4 separate regions of the Homo sapiens genome follow, and all the other regions are linked to region 1. Evidence: promoter capture Hi-C in 16 types of primary human blood cells and fetal thymus (Javierre and others, 2016). All regions are on one chromosome and are shown on one strand. The core of a region is centred on a gene start or on the middle of the fragment in contact, and the rest is flanking DNA. Distances in the headings are between cores, read along the strand shown. Region 1 holds the start of GPN3 (GPN-loop GTPase 3). Region 2 has its middle 8.3 kb from the start of CCDC63. Region 3 overlaps PPP1CC (protein phosphatase 1 catalytic subunit gamma). Region 4 holds the start of IFT81 (intraflagellar transport 81).

Evidence for each region. Contacts are between HindIII fragments. The CHiCAGO score rates a contact against its expected background, and 5 or more counts as called.
Region 2: a fragment that was not itself captured here is called in contact with the fragment with the promoter of GPN3 in region 1 in 1 of 17 cell types (total B cells); the score reaches 6.2 in total B cells.
Region 3: a contact is called between a fragment that was not itself captured here and the fragment with the promoter of GPN3 in region 1, in 6 of 17 cell types (fetal thymus, activated CD4 T cells, total B cells and 3 more). The highest score is 12.9, in fetal thymus.
Region 4: a fragment that was not itself captured here is called in contact with the fragment with the promoter of GPN3 in region 1 in 3 of 17 cell types (fetal thymus, non-activated CD4 T cells and naive CD4 T cells); the score reaches 8.3 in fetal thymus.

Annotation. Positions count from the first base shown.
Region 1 is chr12:110,466,571-110,469,890 of GRCh38, reverse strand. GPN3 (GPN-loop GTPase 3) reads left to right here and starts at 1,634. Exons shown (of 8, transcript NM_016301.4): 1 at 1,634-1,735. The coding sequence starts at 1,688. FAM216A (family with sequence similarity 216 member A) reads right to left here and starts at 1,046. Exons shown (of 7, transcript NM_013300.3): 1 at 873-1,046. The coding sequence starts at 1,015. RefSeq lists enhancers at 303-472, 1,393-1,522 and a silencer at 673-982. The HindIII fragment of the contact is 2,100 bases long and covers 1,431-3,320 here.
Region 2 is chr12:110,836,932-110,840,479 of GRCh38, reverse strand. No RefSeq gene overlaps it. Among named protein-coding and RNA genes, the nearest start is that of CCDC63, 8.3 kb to the left of the region's middle. The HindIII fragment of the contact is 6,129 bases long and covers 1-3,548 here.
Region 3 is chr12:110,737,769-110,741,106 of GRCh38, reverse strand. The region is part of intron 1 of PPP1CC (protein phosphatase 1 catalytic subunit gamma); the gene reads left to right. Among named protein-coding and RNA genes, the nearest start is that of PPP1CC, 3.5 kb to the left of the region's middle. The HindIII fragment of the contact is 2,040 bases long and covers 942-2,981 here.
Region 4 is chr12:110,121,070-110,124,681 of GRCh38, reverse strand. IFT81 (intraflagellar transport 81) reads right to left here and starts at 325. Exons shown (of 19, transcript NM_014055.4): 1 at 1-325. RefSeq lists a silencer at 242-511. The HindIII fragment of the contact is 3,207 bases long and covers 613-3,612 here.

The DNA.
Region 1 (3,320 bases), core at 385-2,884:
TCAGTGTGAAGAAAATGTCAAGATCAAGGCACCTCGGATATTCAGTCATTGGTCTCATTGGCGATTAGAAATCCTCGTTTGAGGTCGGGCGCAATGGTTCACCCCGTAATCCCAGCAATTTGGGAGGCCGAGGCGGGCGGCTCACTTGAGGTCAGGGGTTCGACACAAGCCTAGCCAACATGGTGAAACCACCTCTCTACTAAAAATACAAAAATTAGCCGGGCGTGGTGGCAGGCGCCTGTAATCCCAGCTACTCGGGAGGCTGAGGCAGGAGAATCACTTGAACCTGGGAGGCTGAGGTTGCAGTGAGCTGAGATCGCACCACCGCATTCCAGCCTAGGCAACAGAGCGAGACTGTCTCGCTCTCAAAAAACAAGAAAGAAAAGAAAAAAAAAGAAAAAGAAATCCCCGTTTGACAGGAAGGTGGCTCATGTCACTAGAGGGAAGGAACTGGTTTATGGGCCTGGATGCCCCCAGTTGAACCGGGGGACATCTTCCTCCTCTGTCCCTCCCGCCTCGCCTTTCGGTGGACACACAGTCCTGTGCCAGACAGCAAACGTCCCAGCAGGGCTCGCAGCGCCCCCTCGGGGCAGAGAGATGCACGCGGGCGACTGTCGCAGTCACCTCGTGGCCACTGCACCAAACGCTCCTCCGAAGCTTCCCTCAGAGACCCTCCCTCAACCGCGAGGCAGTCCTCCCCTCTGCCCTCTGTCCACAACAAAACTGCTCCCCGCCTCTCACTTGAGGGCACCGGGGCCAGCCCCCGAGACGAGAGGTCGGCCGCAGCCCTCCTCCACGGGGCTCACGACCCGGGGGCCTCACGACCCGGGGGCCCCATGCTGCCACCCTTACCCCGGGGCCCCCAACCTCACCCGCCGCCGCCACCCTCGGTCCCGGCCACAGCGGGCGGCTCTGCAGAAGAGCTACGCTCCGTCCAGTCGGACCCCGGACCCTGGCCGGGCATCTCCGCGGCGCCGAGACCGCGAGCCGTGTGCGGGAGCAGCTGTCCCAGCATCCCTCCCCCGACAGCACGCGTGCGTCAGGCTGCTGGTATTCCGGAGAGGCGGCTCGGATGCTGGCTTCTCGCCCCTCCGAAGCCGTTCGGACACTGCCCGAACAGCTTCGGGAGAGCGGGGCGGGCAGATCCGCGACCCCGGAGTTACGGTGGGGGAGGGGCAGGAGCGCTGCGGTCGCTGAGCGTTTGCACGTTTGCACCTCTCTGTGGAAGCAGTGCGTCACAGGAGGGAAATATACATGCTCCCCAAAACAAGAGGTGCCTTCCACTTCAGTATTCCAGATCCTCAGCACATTTGCAAATCGCGAGGGTCACCATACAGGTCAAACGTCTGCACGCAAACCACGGACCGAAGCACGTGGCGCAAGGATGCGGAGCTTTATCTGTTGTCCGTTATTACTCAGGTATCCAAGCTTAGACAGCATCCCAACGGCCGATTTCCATCAACTACTTTTGCGCACGCGCAAATCCTCTCCCTCGCCCCTCCCCTTTTTTCTCAGGACGCGTTTCTCACGGGATTTGGCCCGCGGGCTGCCCCGTAGTAGGAGGTGTGGTAGAACTGGAGGCGTAGAAAGAATGTGGATTGCGATTGGTTCGCACTTCACTTTCCCGGAGCTCAGTGGGCGTCGCGCGAAGGCTAAGGGAGTGTGGCGGGCGGCTCCGGGAGCCAACATGCCTCGGTATGCGCAGCTGGTCATGGGCCCCGCGGGCAGCGGGAAGGTGAGGATCTGCGGGGACAAGGAGAGAAAAGTAGGAGTTCGTGGAAGGCGGGAGATTGGGTCCTGAGGGAGTGAGCCGGCGGGTGTGTGTACTGGGAACCCTGAGACCCCACGCAACTCATTTCTGCTGTCTGGCTTCACGTTCTTTTTTGTTGTTGTTTTGAAAGGGAAATAATGGTAGTTGTTAATATTTATTGTATACTTAAGCCCCAGGCAGCAGATGAAACGCCTCGCTTATTTCTACAACAACCCTGTGAGAGAGATCTCATTTTTCTCATTTTACAGAAAACGAGATACAGAAAGGTTAATTAAGTTCTTTGCCCCGCAAAAAAATATAAATCCAGTTTTGTCTCAACTCCAGAATCCGGCCCTGTCTCGCTCCCAGGAGGGTAAAGTGGGGTCTCATTAATTACTGTTTCTCAGAACTTGGGACATGGACTTTTGGTATTTAAGGTGCTTTTAGGTGGTAGGTGGTACATGGACCCCACATTAAGGAGCATCAGATAATGTGTTAGGGAAATTGTTCCCTTTTCATTTCTCTTTCAGTTCTCAACTTCGCATTTAGGAGAAGTTGTGCTCGGTGCTAGTGTGTATCTTCAGCACTTCTTTAATCCCCAGGTCTTTTCAGAGAGCAGTTCTTAGTCTCAGAGCTTTTAATAGGCACCTGTATTTAGCTAAAAATAGAACATTTAAAGATTTTATATAATTTTATGTCTAATTTCACGTTATGTCAAATATAAGTGGTTTTCAGTTTACAGTAGGGATAAAATTTTTTCTTGTAAACAAATATTAAGGGAATGTTAGGAACATTCAAATACAGTGAGAATGGTGAAGATATGGATCAAATAACATATGTGTGGGAAACATAGCCAGGCGTGGTGGCTCACGTCTGTAATCCTATCACTTTGGGAGATGGAGGTGGACGGATCGCCTGAGCCCAGGAGTTTGGGACCAGCCTTGGCAACACGGCGAAACTCTGTCTCTACAAAAAAATGCAAAAATTAGCCAGGCCTGGTGGCAGGTACCTCTAGTCCCAGCTTCTCGGGAAGCTGAAGTGGGAGGATTACCTGAACCCAGGAGGTTGAGGCTGTGGTGAGTGGTGATCGTGCCACTGCACTCCAGCCTGGGTGACAGAGGTACTGTCGCAAAAAAAAAAAAGAAGAAGTGTGGAAACACTAGAGTCTGTGGAGGTGTTGTGTGGCCTCAGTCTTTAACAAACACATTGTTCTAAGCTGTTGACTTATTCTGGGTAAAAACATGTACATGTAACTAAGATACCTATGGCCTTTAACTTACCCAGAGTCTGTAGTCTTTTGGGGAAGACAAATAGATGACCTGTCAATTAAGATACAGTGTGATGTGGCCAGGTGTGGTGGCTTAAGCCTGTAATCCTCGCACTTTGGGAGGCTGAGGCCAGCAGATCACTTGAGCCCAGGAGTTCAGGGTCAGCCTGGGCACCATGGTGAAGCCCTGTCTCTACCAAAAATACAAAAATTAGCTGGGCATGGTGGCGAGAGCCTATAGTCCCACCTACTCGGGGGGCTAAGGCTGGAGAATCGCTTGAGCCTGGGTCAAAGCTGCAGTGA
Region 2 (3,548 bases), core at 536-3,035, 370 kb before region 1:
CAAATATGAGCTGGGTATGGTGGTGCGTGCCTGTAGTCCTAGCTTCTTGGGAGGCTGAGGCAGGAGAATCACTTGAACCCGGGCAGTGGAAGTTGCAGTGAGCTGAGATCATACCACTGCACTCCAGCCTAGGTAACAGAGAGAGATTCCATCTCAAAAAACAAACAAACAAAATAAGTAAAAACAGTACTAATCCATAAGATAAGTGCCACTCATTATCTCAGTGACAGACTTCTGACACAGGTGTAGATTCTTCAGAAAACATTTTGGCCTCACACAGCAAGAGTTATAAAAATGTTTATATTCTTCAACCCAGGAAACCTAAATGTGGAGATTCATCCTAAGAAAATAAGTCAAACTTGGGGATTTTTTTTTTTTTTGAGACAGAGTCTCCCTCTGTTGCTGAGGCTGGAGTGCAGTAGCACTATCTCGGCTCACTGCAACCTCCACCTCCCAGATTAAAGCGATTCTCCTGCCTCAGCCTCCCAAGTAGCTGGGACTACAGGTGTGCGCCACCACACCCAGATAATTTTTGCATTTTTTAATAGAGATGGGGTTTTGCTATGTTGGCTAGGCTGGTCTCGAACTTCTGACCTCACATGATCCACCTGCCTTGGCCTCCCAAACTCCTGGGAGTACAGGCATCAGCCACCATGCCCGGCCAAGTCAAAGATTTTTAAAATGCAAAGGCACTCTTGTGTTCTCCTCTCTCTGTGCCCTTTGATGGTATGGCAAGGCATTTAAAGATGTTTCTGACATTTTTTTAAATTCTAAGACGATGTTAACTATACGGTTATTGGCTAGAAATCCTGAGTTATCAACTGTACATATCCATAGTTTGTAAAAAAGAACAAAACAACCAAGACAAACTCTTGATGTTCCTCACTTGGCAATGAGGCCGTGGGGGAAGATGGCTTTCGGAGGAGTGGTAGCTCAGGGCGTGCACTGTGAGACAGGACCTGTTGACTCCGTGGTGAGCATCTATTTAGCTTCAGGTGGTCTTGTTTCTGTATAGAGTGACATAGCATTCTGCTGCCATTCTTAGCTGTGGACAAAGTGGGATCAGCTGGCATGAGAAGTGTTTGGGGGTTTTTTGGTTGTTTTTTGTTTTTTTGAGACAGAGTTTCGCTCTTGTTGCCCAGGCTGGAGTGCAATGGTGCGGTCTCAACTCACCCCAACCTCCGCCTCCCGGGTTCATGCGATTCTCCTACCTCAGCCTCTTGAGTAGCTGGGATTACAGGTGCCCACAACCACGCCTGGCTAATTTTTGTATTTTTAAGTAGAGACAGGGCTTCGCCATGTTGGCCAGGCCGGCCTCAAACTCCTGACCTCAGGTGATCCACCCGCCTCGGCCTCCTAAAAAAGTTCTGGGATTACAGGCGTGAGCCACCATGCCCAGCCTTTTTTTTTCTTTTCGAGAAAGGGTCTCCCTCTGTTACCTACACTGGAGTCCAGTGGTGCAGTCATAGCTTACTGCAGCCTTGACCTTCCAGCCTCAAGTGATCCTCCCACCTCAGCCTCCTGAGGAGCTGGAACTACACCACACCTGGCTTTTTTTTTTTTTTTTTTAACAGAGACAGGGTCTGTGTTGGCCAGGCTGGTCTTGAACCTCTGGCCTCAAATGATCCTCCCACCTCGGCCTCCCGAAGTGCTGGGATTATAGACATGAGCCACTGCACCTGGCCTAAATTTTGTTTTAAACAAACTACAGAACTCTTCCTTGTCAGCAAACAAAGAGCCACCCATCAGTGAAAGTTCAAGAATCAGGCCGGGCGCAGCGGCTCATGCCTATAATCCCAGCACTTTAGAAGGCTGAGGTAGGAAGATCACCTGAGGTCAGGAGTTCGAGACCAGCCTGGCCAACATGGCAAGCCCCATCTCTACTAAAAATACAAACAAAGGCTGGGCATGGTGGCTCACGCCTGTAATCCCAGCACTTTGGGAGGCCGAGGCAGGCGGATCACGAGATTGAGACCATCCTGGCTAACAAGGTGAAACCCCGCCTCTACTAAAAAAACAAAAAAAGCCAGGCTGAGGCAGGAGAATGGCGTGAACCCAGGAGGCAGAGTTTGCAGTGAGCCGAAATCCCACCACTGCACTCCAGCCTGGGCAACAGAGCTAGACTCCGTCTCAAAAAAAAAAAAAAAAAAATACAAAAAAAAATTAGCCGGGCGTTGTGGCAGGCACCTGTAATCCCAGCTACTCGGGAGGCTGGGGCAGGGGAATCACTAGAACCCAGGAGGGGGAGGTTGCAGTGAGCCAAGATCTTGCCACTGCACTCCAGCCTGGGCAACAAAGTGAGACTCCATGTCGAAAAAAAAGAAGAAGAAGAAGAAGAAGAATCTTCTTTATTTTGTATGTTTAGAATGCTGAGGTATTTTTCAAGTTACATTAACAGCATTGCACTTTTTAAAAAGAAAAAGAAAATAAGCCAAAGGCAAAAAAAATCCATATATACAAAGATGCCGATTGTAAAATCATCTCTACATAGGCAAGTGGAAATAAGTAAAAATCAACAAAATAAACACTTGGAATGAAAAAAGCCAAGCCCAGAAGAGCTCATACTGAAAAATGCCATTCATATAAAGCACAAAATTAGGGGAAGCTAACTTTGCCTTTAGAAGTCAGAATAGAGGTTATATGGTAGAGGGGGATAGAGAAGAAATAACTGGAAGGGAAATCAAGAGGCTTTCAGGGCTGCAGATATTCTGTTTCTTGATCTGGTTACATAATCAATTCATTTGTGAAAATTCATCCAGCCATACACTTCTGATATGGACCCCTTTATATGTGTGTATTGTACTCCGATACAAAAGTTTTCTAGACAGATGAACAAGAGGAGGATTTTTTTTTTTTTTCGAGATGGAGTCTTGCTCTGTCGCCCAGGCTGGAGTGCAGCGGCGCTATCTCTGTTCACTGCAACCTCCGCCTCCTGGGTTCATGACATTTTCCTGTCTCAGCCTCCCGAGTAGCTGGGACTACAGGTGCCCACCACCACGCCCAGCTAATTTTTTGTATTTTTAGTAGAGACAGGGTTTCACTGTGTTAGCCAGGATGGTCTCGATCTCCTGACCTTGTGATCTGCCCACCTCCGCCTCCCAAAGTGCTGGGATTACAAGTGTGAGCCACCACGCCATGGCCAAGAGGAGGATTTTTAAAGTAAATTATGGCTTATCTACTCATGGGACATTCTAGAGCATCGAAAAACGTAAAAATAACCACACCTGGCCTGGTGCAGTGGCTCGCACCTATAATCCTAGCACTTTGGGAGGTCAAGGTGGGAAGATCGCTTGAGTCCAGGAGTTAGAGACCAGCCTGGGCAACATAATGAGACCCCCATCTCTATTTAAAAATGTTTAATACAAAATAAAATAAAATACCCACATCTATTAAGCATATGCATGGTATGTACATATTGTTTTTCGTCGTCTAGTCCATCTTCTGTCCAATTCATTTGCCACTCTTCTCTTCCTGCTGTGTGTCTCAAGAAGTGGACAGTGTGATCCACATCACTCAAGGTCTCCCTTACCTTCTGTCTTCTGGTTGAA
Region 3 (3,338 bases), core at 712-3,211, 270 kb before region 1:
CCTTGTCATTCTTTTAATGCCAGGTATTTATATAAGAACCATACTTTTTCATACTAGTTAATATAGTTCTTTAATTTATTCGAGGCAGCAGTTGGTCAGAAACTGATTAAAATAGTTTGCTGTAAGAAAGGAACTTTTTGTTAAATATTTTCTTTCTAAATTTTAAAATTCTGCTTATCTCTGCAGGGATATGTGTGGCTTTATTTCTCTGAGGAAACAGGAAAAGTTGGAATTTGCATGGATTAGAAACATTAGAATTTTAAGATCATCTAAGGCTTGCTAATTTAAGTTCTGGTTTGCCCATAACTGCCTCTATTCATAAACAGCTTTTGTTAATTTTGATCTTTAAAATTGTAATAAGTACTTTGCCTGGTAAGTAATGATACATCTAAAATGAGATCATTGTTTCTTAATAGTTCCTCTTGTTATGTGGCACTTGAAAACCAGGTTTTCTTATATTTCATTTTTTGCTGAAATTAATAAAGCAGTGCATTTTAATGCCTTGGGAATAGGCTAACTGCAAAGTATACTTAAATTTCTTTTTTTCTCGTGGGTGTTAAATTGGCAGAGAAACAGTTGAAGATGATCCATTGAGGATATGTAGATATCTAAGTTAAATGATGTTGGTAATAAATTCTGTTTTACAATTTTTTATTTAAAAAAATTAAATTTAATAATTTAAAATAGAAATGAGAGTCTCACTGTGTTGCCCAGGCTGTTCTCAAACTCCTGGTTTCAAGCAGTCCTCGCACCTCGTCCTCCCCAGGTGCTGGGGTTATAGTCATGAGCCACCGTGCCCGGCCTAAATTTTATTCTTTTCATAATGCCCCCAAAACCTTTTTTTTCCCTAAATAAGATGTAAGTATATCTGAAAGTAGAGGGAATATGACTTGTGACTTTGGCCAGATTTTTTTACGTGTTTAGAATTGATCTTTTAAGCTTGCGAGCAGTATAACCTAGTTGAGAAGTAGCTGAGTAATAGTACTAAAAAGCTAACTGAAAAGTGAAGTCTTAAGAAAAACAGCATGTTGGTTTAGATCTTAGTCACTAACCTTTGCAGTTCTTTTCTTCTCTGAACTCTGAGTATTTCTGTAAGCGAGGCATCACCTCTGCAACCCACCATGGATGCTTTTATCCAAGCTCTGCCTTGCTGATGATAAAACTTAAGGTTGTTAACTCCTTAGTATAACTGATGTTAGTTATTTAAATAACTACACAGTAAAACGGCATTTTGAGAGAAAATAAGCCAGCTGTTGATTTGGTCTGATGTATTGAAGACAAGTGAGATTTGGGGCAGTTTTACTTTGTAAATGACCTCCTTCAAGGAGCCATGGTGGCTAGCATTTTTTTTGCATAGCAGGTGGTTGTAACTTACTTCACATCTTGGTTTGCAAGAAGCATCTTTGCTTTGAAGAAGGCCATTGTCAAAGTGCAAGACCATGTCAGGCTCTGCAGAATTGCCTGACTTGTTTTAGTGATTTAAATATGATCTCTGCCCTGGCTCACAGAAAGTGCTTACAGATTTAATCCTCTGATACATAAGGGTTGTTCTGAAGGTAGGGAGTGTTCAGATATTCTGAAACTCTAAGATTGTTTAAATAACCCATATGTTCATCTTTTTGATGCAGTATAAAACGTTCATATTCTGGTGTTTAGCCATCCCTGGTCCTAAAGATAATAAAGGACAAACATAATGGTTTAAAAAGGGGAAGGTTTCTTAATATGCTAACCAAAAAAAAAAACAAAAGTAATCTTTCCTAATGAACACCTGTAATTATTTATTTTTTTATTTTATTTTGGAGACAGAGTCTCACTCTGTCACCCAGGCTGGAGTGCAGTGGTGGGATCCTGGCTCACTGCAACCTCTGCCTCCCGGGTTCAAGCGATTTTGGTGTCTCAGCCCCCTGAGTAGCTGGGATTAACAGGCATGCACCACCACGCTCGGCCAAGTTTTTGTATTTTTAGTAGAGATGAGGCCAGGCTGGTTTTGAACTCGTGACCTCAAGTGGTCTGCCCGCCTCAGACTCCCAAAGTGCTGGGATTACAGGCATGAGCCACCGTGCCCAGCCTGTAATTATTTGTTTACAGAGCAGGTAATTTTTACACTCACATCCAAGTTGTCAGTTTCTAATTCCCTCATTGATAAGAACTCTGATGTGAGCCCTTGCCCTTCCTTTCCCATCAGTATGTTGGTCATATGCCCACTTCCTCTCCTCCTAGGCAAGGTGGGAAAGCTCTGTTGGAGACAGATGATCTGCAGCTTGCAGGAGTCCTTTTTTAAACCACAGCATTGAAAAAGGATTACTCTCCTTGTGCCCGCAGTGCCCTCTTGCCTGTCAGTAGCAGGAGGCAGCAGTGAAATCTGACAGAATTGTGTGTGACGTTGTGCTTGCGGGGGATGTGACACACAGGAGCGCTCTGCATTCTGAGCCTAGGGTGTTCCTCCTCATAACTGGGCAAATGGACATGCAGTTGTAGCCCAGCAGTGGTCAGCTGTAGAAATTAGTGAGGTGATTTGATGTCTTTGAAAGCACAGTCCTATTACAACCTGTAACCTGTTGTGCAGAATCACAGTACCAGTCAGCCCACTTGACTAGGTGAGGATTCCTGATGGTGAAGCAGGGAAATTATTGATGTTATGTGGACTTCACCATTTAACTTAATTTACAATTGAGGCCATTAGTTGACCTGAGAGATTAAAATATGAAGGAGATAATATTCTGGGTGTCAGTCGCTTTGTAGATAAAGAACTGGAAAGTCATTCAAGACCAAGAAGGAAGGATTTCATTTCCATGGAGCTTATGGAATTCCAGGATAGAGTTTGATATTTTAAGATCATACCTCTGTATCCAAAGCATCAAGAACAGATGATGTGTTTGTGGATCTTGGTGATTTGTCTGAAATCTCCAGCTTCCCCACTTCACTGGGGTTTACTGTCATCCCTCTTCTAGAAGGTAGTGGTCATCACCGACAGTAAAGCTTACAGCAAATGAAAACTCAAAATGTAGTCTACTCAGTGGTATATTACCGAAATGTGTTCTTAGACTGTGAAAATTAAAGTTTTTAATGGATTGGCTTTACTCGAGGTGTAGAAAACTCAAGATGCTTTATTGAGAACAGTAGACAGTGTTTTGCAGCCACATCCTATCTGCCTTGAAAAAAATGGTGTCACTTTTATTTTTTTTACTAGAGACTGGGTCTCACTCTGTCCCCAGGCTGGAGACCTGAACTCCTGGGTTCAAGCGATTCTTCCTCCTCATCCTCTTGGCTAGCCGGATCTATAGGCACACACCACCACACCTGGCTAATTTTTTTTTCTTTTTCTTTTTTTCTTAAAG
Region 4 (3,612 bases), core at 967-3,466, 350 kb after region 1:
ACCCCACACCCGACCGGGCCTCTAGCGGGGGCTGCCCTGGGCCCCTCGACAGTTCATCCCTCCAGGGAGCGGCCTGGATCCGCTCGAATCCCAGAAGGGGCCCGATTCCCCTATCCGGGGGCTTAACCGCGACGACCCCTTCCACTTGCGAGGTGCTGCATCAGGACCGAGAGAGGACGGGAGCTCTCTCCTATTTCGGGGTTCAGAGGAGCTTCCGACCGCGAGTTGGCGAGGTTACCTCAAATTCTCCTCACGAAACCGTTTCCCCACCCCCCAGGAGGCGCCCGGGCTCTAGACCGCTCCCAGAGTCGAGCTCCTTGGCAACGGTTGCTAGGCCGTAGAGTTACGTCACTTCCGGGCGAGCGGCCGCTCTCCCGCGCGCGCGCGCACGAGCTGGGGGGCGGGGCCGGGCCAGGGCGGGGAGGACGGGCGCGGGGCGGAGCGGACGGGGCGGGGCGGGGCGGAGCGGACGGGACGGGGCGGGACGGGGCGGGGCGGACGGGGCGGACGGGAGCCGGGCTTACTTGCAAAGCGGGCCCACGTGCTGAGCCACTGCAGACAGCCGAGGGCATTTGGGACTGTTACTCCGACCTAGACGCGCTACAATAAGCTTCCCGAAAGTCCTGCACTTCGCAGTTTACAAAATACTCTCTGCATGATTAACCTATGTTAAATGCGTGTGATGTTTCATTCATTCATTCATTCATGCATGCATGCATGCATTCATGCGCCAAACGTGGGTGATGATTTTTGTTTGTTTTTGAGGCAGGGCTGGGTGGTAGGGGGGTTGGGATGAGCAAGCATTTGGCCAGTGCTTCAAATTTAGGTTTTTGACATAAGTATCTCCAAATTAGGTTATGCATAGGAACAATTGTAGTGAGGCTCTGGCAGGATTAAAAGAAGACACATTCATCATAGAGATTTCAGCTTCTGTGTCACATTACTGGGCCACATTGCCTGTACTGGGAATTAAATTTTTTTAAACCCAATACGTTTTGAGTATGCTGAGAGCCTGAAAGGGGGTGTGGGAGAACTAAGTGTCCTAATGTTCCTTTGGCTTCTGAGTGGGCTCTCTTTAGGTGACTGCAGAAATAAATTAAATCCTCCTTGTGGTCTTCATGGAGTTCACATCCCACGCAGGACGCAGGGAGATCTTTGTGCCCAGTCACTGATGAGGTTTAAAAGTCTACTGGAATTTGCACTAGCTGGTTTGTGGGAGACCTTAGTTGGCAAATGGTATTTTGAACCAACCTCTATTAGACTAGAGACCACGATACTTAGTGATATCAGCTGGCAATGAAAGAAAGAGAAGGAAAAAAAATCAAATTATTGATACCTTGAAAACTTAGTTGCCTGCTCAAACAGCATAGGAGAAACCAACTATAGCTTTAGCATCAGACTTACCACAACAAAAAATAACAGATTACGTATTAGGCATTTCCTATATGCCCTGTACTGTACAGGCTGCTGGAAATGCAGAAGGGCAGGACTTACCTGGCCCCTGCCCTGATGGAGCTGACAGTCTAGTGCCGGCAGAGATTATTAAAGGGGCAACACCAATACAATTGAGATAAATGCTGTAACAAGAGAAGCCAATGATTAGGAGCCCAGATTAAGGGCCTCAAGTTTATTTGGGGAGGGTGGTGCCAAAGGGGCCATACCATCAGGAAAGTTTCTGTCAAATGGAGTGATGTTTAAGGATCAGTAAAAATTAGGCCTGGCACCGTGGCTCACGCCTGTAATCTCAGCACTTTGAGAGACCAAGGCAACAAGATAACTTTGAGCCCAGGAGTTCAGGATCAGCCTGGGTAACAGAGCAAGACCCTTTCTCTACAAAAAATTAAAAGCAAAAATTGGTCAGGGGTGGCACCATTGCACTCCAGGCTGGGCAACAGAAGGAGACCCCCATCTCTTAAAAAGGATCAGTAAAAATTAGCCAAACAGGAAAAGGGAGAGTGTTTTGGGCAGAGGCAACACAACATTCCAAGACCAGTCCCTTTGTTGGCTGCCCTCTGACTGTTGAAATATCAAGCGTAGGTACCCTGCAGGGCTCCTGGAGAGAAACTAAAACTGGCCCCACCCCACAACCAATTAGGGGAAGCAACACTCAAAACCTCAAAGAATTAAATAACTTACATAATACTGACAGAAACAATACAAGATTTGTAGAAGGGATTATATAATTCATTGATCCTGTTGGGTGTGTTAGGAGACATCCCTGGCTACCTGGGTTTGAATTCTGCATCTGCCATTGTGTACCCTCTCTTTATCTTGCTAAACTTTCCTCATCTGTAAAACGTGGCTATAATAAAACCTTCCTCAATAGGGTTGACATGAGGATTAAGGGAGTTGATACAGGTAAAGTGATTACAACAGTGCCCAACATTGGGAGGCACTGAAGACATTTATGTTTTTTCTTTTTAAAAAAATGAGGCATGTACATGGTGGCTCATGCCTGTAATCTCAGCACTTTGGGAGGCTGAGGTGGGAGGACAGTCTTAGCCCAGGAGTTCAAGTCCAGCCTGAGCAACAGTGAGACCCCATCTTTAAAAAAAGAAAAGAAAAAAGAAAAAAAAAAGAAGTAAAAGAATTTTTTGAATAAAACTTTAAAAATAAGATGGTTTGCCAGACACAATGGCTCATGCCTGTAATCCCAGCACTTTGGGAGGCTGAGATGGGCCGATCACTTGAGGTCAGGAGTTCAAGACCAGCCTGGCCAACAAGGTGAAACCTCATCTCTATCAAAAATACAAAAATTAACTGGGTGCGGTGGTGCATGCCTGTAATCCCAGCTACGTGGGAGGCTGAGGCAGGAGAATCACTTGAACTTGGGAGGCAGAGGTTGCAGTGAGCGAAGATCACGCCATTGCACTCCAGCCTGGGCAACAGAGTGAGACTCTGTCTCAAAAAAAAAAAAAAAAAGAAAAGAAAAGAAAAAAGAAAAAGTAAAGAAAAGAAAAAAGAAAAAAAAAAGATGGTTAGATTTGCACCTTCTATAGGGTTTATGGGTATAGGCTATAGAAATCCTAGATAGGAGTGGTTTATCTAATAGCTTTTAGTTCCTCCTCTCTCTGTTGCCCCTGGTCTACAAACACTATACCTTTCAGTTATGAGACTGCAATCCTGTATAAATTCAAATAAGCAAGAGGATCCACTCTTTGGACTCAAACTTGAATAGATTTTATGCTTAATATGGTTGCTCTGGAACACGGGGAAGAACTTGAAGCCAGTCAGCATGCTTCCTGGAATCTGTATATTGAAAAATTTATGTTCCGACTTACAGTAAAAAAGAGAACTGCATATATTGGGTCCCCGAGGCCAAAGGAAGATTGGCTACCACCCCCTGATTCTGTGTGTGTGTGTGTGTGTGTGTGTGTGTGTGTGTGTGTGTGTGTGTGTGTTTGTGTTTGGAGATGGAGTCTCACTTTGTCACCCAGGCTGGAGTGCAATGGCGCAATCTCGGCTCACTGCAGCCTCCGCCTCCTGGGCTCAAGCAATTCTCCTGTCTCAGCCTCCCTAAAGTGCTGGGATTACAGGTGTGAGCCACCGCGCCCAGCCGCCTGATTCATTTAACATAAAACCTTGGGTGGATTCGTTGAAGAGTCTAAGAGG